2 separate regions of the Homo sapiens genome follow, and region 1 is linked to region 2. Evidence: promoter capture Hi-C in human tissues and cell types (Jung and others, 2019). All regions are on one chromosome and are shown on one strand. Each heading gives the region's core, a stretch centred on a gene start or on the middle of the fragment in contact. The rest is flanking DNA. Distances are from core to core; before and after follow the strand shown. Region 1 overlaps EPHA5 (EPH receptor A5). Region 2 holds the start of EPHA5 (EPH receptor A5).

Region 1 (2,700 bases), core at 146-2,645, 56 kb after region 2:
CATGTATTTTCTGTACTTTCTCAGCGATTTGTGTTTTATATGTTTTACTGTGAGTTTTGAGTGATCTTTCATTTGGAAGGTAGGTTTGCTAGATATAGAATTATTGGTTGATAGTATTGTTTTTCTAGCACTTTGACTATGTCATTCTATTTTCTTCTGGCCTTCATTGTTTCATCTGTGGTGTCAGCTTATTGTCATATTCTTGTTCCTCTCTACTGAGTTGATTTCCTCTTGCTGCTTTCAAAATTTTCAAAAATGTTTTAGCTTTTATCATGTTCAAGTATCTAGGCATGAACTTTTGTATGTACCCCAATTGGTTTCAGCAGGCATTTTGTATTTCTACCTAAGTTTTTAAATCAAATTTGTAAAATACTTGCTATTTAATCAACTATTGTACCTGCCATTTTTTTCTCTTACTCCTTCTTTTGAGACTTTCATTACATATATGTTAATATGATATATTTTATTTTTCCTAGAGATCTATAAGCTTCTGATAATGAATTTAGTGTATTTTTCCAGTTCATTTTATACTTTATCACTTTGTTATGAATGTAACAAAACACAATTTAGCATAATTGCATTCTTTGTAAAGTATATTTTGCTGTTTTATAAATTTTACATTTTTCTTTATTATATACTTGTAAACTCCATATAACAATTACTATTAACTCTTGTATGATGATTTATAGCATGAATATAACACATTTATTTATTTCTATTGTTGATGACATTAGTACTTTCTTTTTGATCATTACAGTGTTTCAGACTTACTTTGGCATATGTATCTTTAGAATCATGTAAAGATCCCAGGTTTAAAACACTTTTAAATGCACCATATATTTCCAAACACTTCCCAAAGCTGGCTACTAATATATACTCCCAGCAGGAGCATAGAAGAGTACTTCTTCCCTATTGCCTTTATATCACTTGATTCAATTTCTGCCAGGTTTTCTCCTAATAAACAGTCAGTTAAATGTATGAAGCATTAGCCTATATTTAGCATAAATAGCCAAAGTAGGGTGAAGAAATATTATTAAGAGCTTGTGATATCCAGGAGCCCTCTAATCCATCTTTGCTAAAGGATGGACTTACATAGCTGACAAACTATCAGATACAGCAAACAGAATAATAAAGGGAGGTCAGGGACATTTACCTTCTATGCATAGCTTCCTTATCATATCAAGAGTTCAGTTTGCTCATATACAAATAGATGTAAAAGTATGAAATAATATCTAAGATATTATGTTAAAACATTCTGTTTCTTTACTATAACTAGATTTACTGGTTATCTGCATTTGCTCTATGTATGTTTTCTGTTATGAGAATACATTGGCAAAAGGGATTGTGTTGATAAGCAGAGAAAAAGGCAGTTAACAGCTTGTTTTAATATTAAGGCTAAAATCACACTGAAAAATTAATTTTACTATTCCCATCTGTGATTGATAACCTAAGCAACAGGCCTCAAAATAATTAAGGGACAATATAGTGAGACAAGGAACAAGTTGACAGAAGACGCCAGTAGGAATAATAAATGTGAAGACTTAATTTTTTTAATGTTTCAACTTCACTAAATCTGTAAATATATCATATTTTTCTAGAATTCTTGGCATTCGTAGAAACATCTGTTTTTATAGTAATTCTCAAGTAAAATATTAAAGTGCAACAAAATATATCGATTGTTGATAGATAAAAAATTCTGTAAATGTTGATCAATCACTGTCTTCAGATAGTCAATCCCTATTGTAAACTTCTATGGTCTAATGTTGGTCAGAATTAAATTTGCATTCAATTAATGATCAAAAAACATAAACACTAAATATTTAGAATTGTCATTGGAGAGCTATCACTAAACATTTTAAACTTCCATAAGTGAGGTATACATTTATTCAAAAGTATGCTTTTGGTTGATATTAACTTTTTGGCCAGACACAAGCTTAACAAAATCCAGGAGGAGGAATTTGCAATAGACATATGGCTGTTCATTTACTTCTATCTCAAATAGAGAAGCACTGGAATTCTTAATATATTTAACTAAGTGGCTAAAAAAATCTCTACAGGGAAAACTACAGAACACTGATGAAATAAACCATAGATGACACAAACAAATTGAAGATCATCCCATTCTTATGGATTGGAAGAATCAATACAGTTAAAATGACCATACTGCCCAAAGCAATCTGCAGATTCAATGCAATTCCTATAAAAAATATCAACACTATTTTTCACAGAATTAGACAAAAAATTATATAGTTTATATGACCTCTCAAAAGAGCCCAAATTGTCAAAGGAATTCTAAGCAAAAAGAATAAAGCTGGAGGCATCACATTACCTAACTTCAAATTATACTACAAGTATGTAATAACCAAAACAGCATGATACAGGCATAAAAATAGACAGATAGATCAGTGGAACAGAATAGAGTCCCAGAAATAAAGTCACAGACCTACAGCCAACCGATCTTTGACATTGTTGATGAAAACATATACCGAGATTAGGACACCCTATTCAATAAATGGTACTGGGAAAATTGGATTGCTATACGCAGAAAAATGAAATTGGACCCCTATTTTCTACTGTCTATTAAAATGGACCCAAGATGGATTATAGATTTAAATGTATGACCTGAAACTATAAAATCCTAAGCAAAACCATGGAAAGCTCTTCTGGACATTGGCCTAGTTGAAGTATGCATGATTAAGA
Region 2 (2,700 bases), core at 26-2,525:
CATTTCAGGAAAAAAAGAAATCAAAGATGAGCTTTCACCTCTTTACAAAATTGCATCACTGCTGCTTTATTCTTTCATCTTTATTGCAAATATTTAAACAAAAAACAAATGTCACCAGCTAAAGATAGTGAGGAATTTATTGTGGAGACAAACAAGGCTCTAGATATGTCAAAACTGGTGAGCTGACTCACCTTTATTAGGTGTGAACGGAAGCCCAAGCTTTACAGTGGTTACTATACATGAAATTAAATGAGATATCTTTCTTCTATAATCAGACCTTTCTGTAAGTGCTTTCTCTGCAGCCTTTTGTTTTTAAATGCCTGTGTACTAAAATTGTCCTTCAAATGTATCTCTTTGAAAGAATGAATAAATCGAGGGAATATACTAAAGCAAGAAAAGACATAATAGAGGTGAAGCATAGAAAGTTGATTGTTTTAACTGTTTTTTTTTTCACTGTTTGTAAATCTCCCAATGCTATAGGGCACAATCAATTAAAATAATTAATTTTTCAAAACCCTGAATTTATTTGACCGAGGCTAATTTCACTGGAATGTATGTCGTGTATCTGCATATCGTCCAATTTCTAAAATACTAAAACATTTTATCAATGAAATAAATGAATTAAATCGCCACCTATGAAAGTACCTGGCACACTACAAATCTCAATAGTCAAATTCTTTGACTCCTTGAAATCTCAAACAGAGCTACCGCCTCTTTATTTACTCTACAATTTACTTCTGAAGAAAACATTGAGTAATTATCCTATTCCAGCCATCAAAGTATGGGAAGAACAGAAAGAGTCAGCAGCGGTAAGCGGTATGGGTGTTTAAGAAACTAGCCACGGACCAGCAGAGCCTGCGAATGCGCGGCGATGTGACGACAAGGTTGTTGATGCCACAGCCTGTGAGGGACAGCAGGCAAGATGCCAAACGGAGGGACCCGCGTCTCTAAGGGCCGCCGGCTGAGCTGGGGCTGATCTCCCTTCCGCCTCCCGGGAACCCCAGTCCTCGCCAGCGTCGTCAGGATTCCTTGCCCTAATTATCCCGGGAGGAAGACGCGCCTTTCCCGGAGACCGCTAGGCAACACTCACCAAGGCAGCCTCCAGATTACTTCCCTCCGTGGGTGTGTGACTTCGTCGAAGCAACTCACACTTACAGTAGATTCTCACTGGCGAGGCTGCGAGCAGCAGAGGGCGGGGGAGCTGGGAAGAGGAGGAGGGAAGGAGGGTGGGAGGCGCTGAGCTGGGAGGCAGAGGAGACGCCGGAGCTCCAGACACAGCAGGAGCGCGCCTTGGCGGTGCAGTTTCAACCTCGACTTCGCAGCCGCGCACACACCGCCTGCTCCCCGAGCAGCGGGAACCGCAGCAGCTCCTGGGCCGCCGCAGCGCAGCTCCGCGCTCCTACCGGCCGGCAGCCGTCAGTCCCTCCCCTCTTCAGCACTCAGCCCGCAGCTATTTCCTTCTGCCAGTCTCTTTGAACTCTGGATCTTTGCTTTTGCTCGCTGCTCTCCTGTTTTTCATTCTCCACATTTTCTCAAGTCCTCTTTCTTTATCCTTAGCCACCCTGCTTTTTTCCTCCTTTTTTAAAAAATCGGAGATTTCGTCTTAAAATGATTTGCCTTCCTTACCTTCGTCCATTTCAACACTGAAGGCTGCAAAGAACCTTCACCTTTCCCCTAGTGGTATTTAAAAATTCTCAATCCGTAAAAAGTCTTTTTGAAAGGCAAAGGAACAGGACCCAGGACCCTCTCGACACCCTTGATCCGAGTCCAGATCTGCACTAGCAACCAGAACTAATATTTCATTTAACCCCACCAAAGGGGGAGGCGAGAGGAGCCAGAAGCAAACTTCAGCTGTCTCAGCCGGATCCGTGGTTCCTACATTTGGAGGAGCCGCGTGCCAGAAGGCGTAGGACCCCAAGGGGGGACAAGGAGGACTCCCGAGTCTCCCTTCGCCGCTCTGCGAGGCCGAAGCGGTGGACTGAGCCGCTCGGGACAGCGGCACCGGAGGAGGCTCGGAGAAGATGCGGGGCTCGGGGCCCCGGGGTGCGGGACGCCGGCGGCCCCCAAGCGGCGGCGGCGACACCCCCATCACCCCAGCGTCCCTGGCCGGCTGCTACTCTGCACCTCGACGGGCTCCCCTCTGGACGTGCCTTCTCCTGTGCGCCGCACTCCGGACCCTCCTGGCCAGCCCCAGCAACGAAGGTAGGGAGATGGGGGTGGGGACCGTGGCGACCTGGGGCGGAGGGGCTAGGCGGGGCCTGGGAGTTCAGGTCTCAGCGCGCTGGACGCTGCTGCTGCAGACTAAATCGCAGTCTCATCTCAAATTGGTATTTGTCGTCCCCTTCCACTGGCCTTTTCGCTCCCCTCTGCGGTTTTTGGTTGCATTGTTTGACGTTAGCTGCGGAGTGCTGGGCAAGGAACATGCGTGTGGACAGAGGCTGGTTGGGGGGCTGGGAAGGTGGAAAACCTTGGGGGAAAGGAGGTCGAGGCCTCCTTTGGGGAATGGAGGCCCGTTCCAGGGGGATGGGTGCGGCTGGGCCTCACTTAAGGCGCGTGGGGAAGTGACATTTCGGGCTTGAAGGAGTGGGAACTGTTGGAAGCTCAGTGACAAGGATCTCTGGAGCAGTGGGGCTTTTAGAAACCGTTATTTGAGGCCAGTGATGGGAAACGTTGTGGGGGTGGCTGGATGCTTTTATTTTT

The links. Contacts are between HindIII fragments. The study calls those that stand out against the background at their distance.
Region 1: a fragment that was not itself captured here is called in contact with the fragment with the promoter of EPHA5 in region 2 in 2 of the 25 tissues and cell types used here (H1 embryonic stem cells and hippocampus).

What each region holds. Positions count from the first base shown.
Region 1 is chr4:65,612,930-65,615,629 of GRCh38, reverse strand. The region is part of intron 2 of EPHA5 (EPH receptor A5); the gene reads left to right. Among named protein-coding and RNA genes, the nearest start is that of EPHA5-AS1, 56 kb to the left of the region's middle. The HindIII fragment of the contact is 4,614 bases long and covers 1-2,700 here.
Region 2 is chr4:65,669,064-65,671,763 of GRCh38, reverse strand. It overlaps EPHA5 (EPH receptor A5), which reads left to right and starts at 1,275. Exons shown (of 17, transcript NM_001281766.3): 1 at 1,275-2,202. The coding sequence starts at 2,022. It overlaps EPHA5-AS1 (EPHA5 antisense RNA 1), which reads right to left and starts at 1,803. Exons shown (of 4, transcript NR_034138.1): 1 at 1,091-1,803. The HindIII fragment of the contact is 8,453 bases long and covers 1-2,700 here.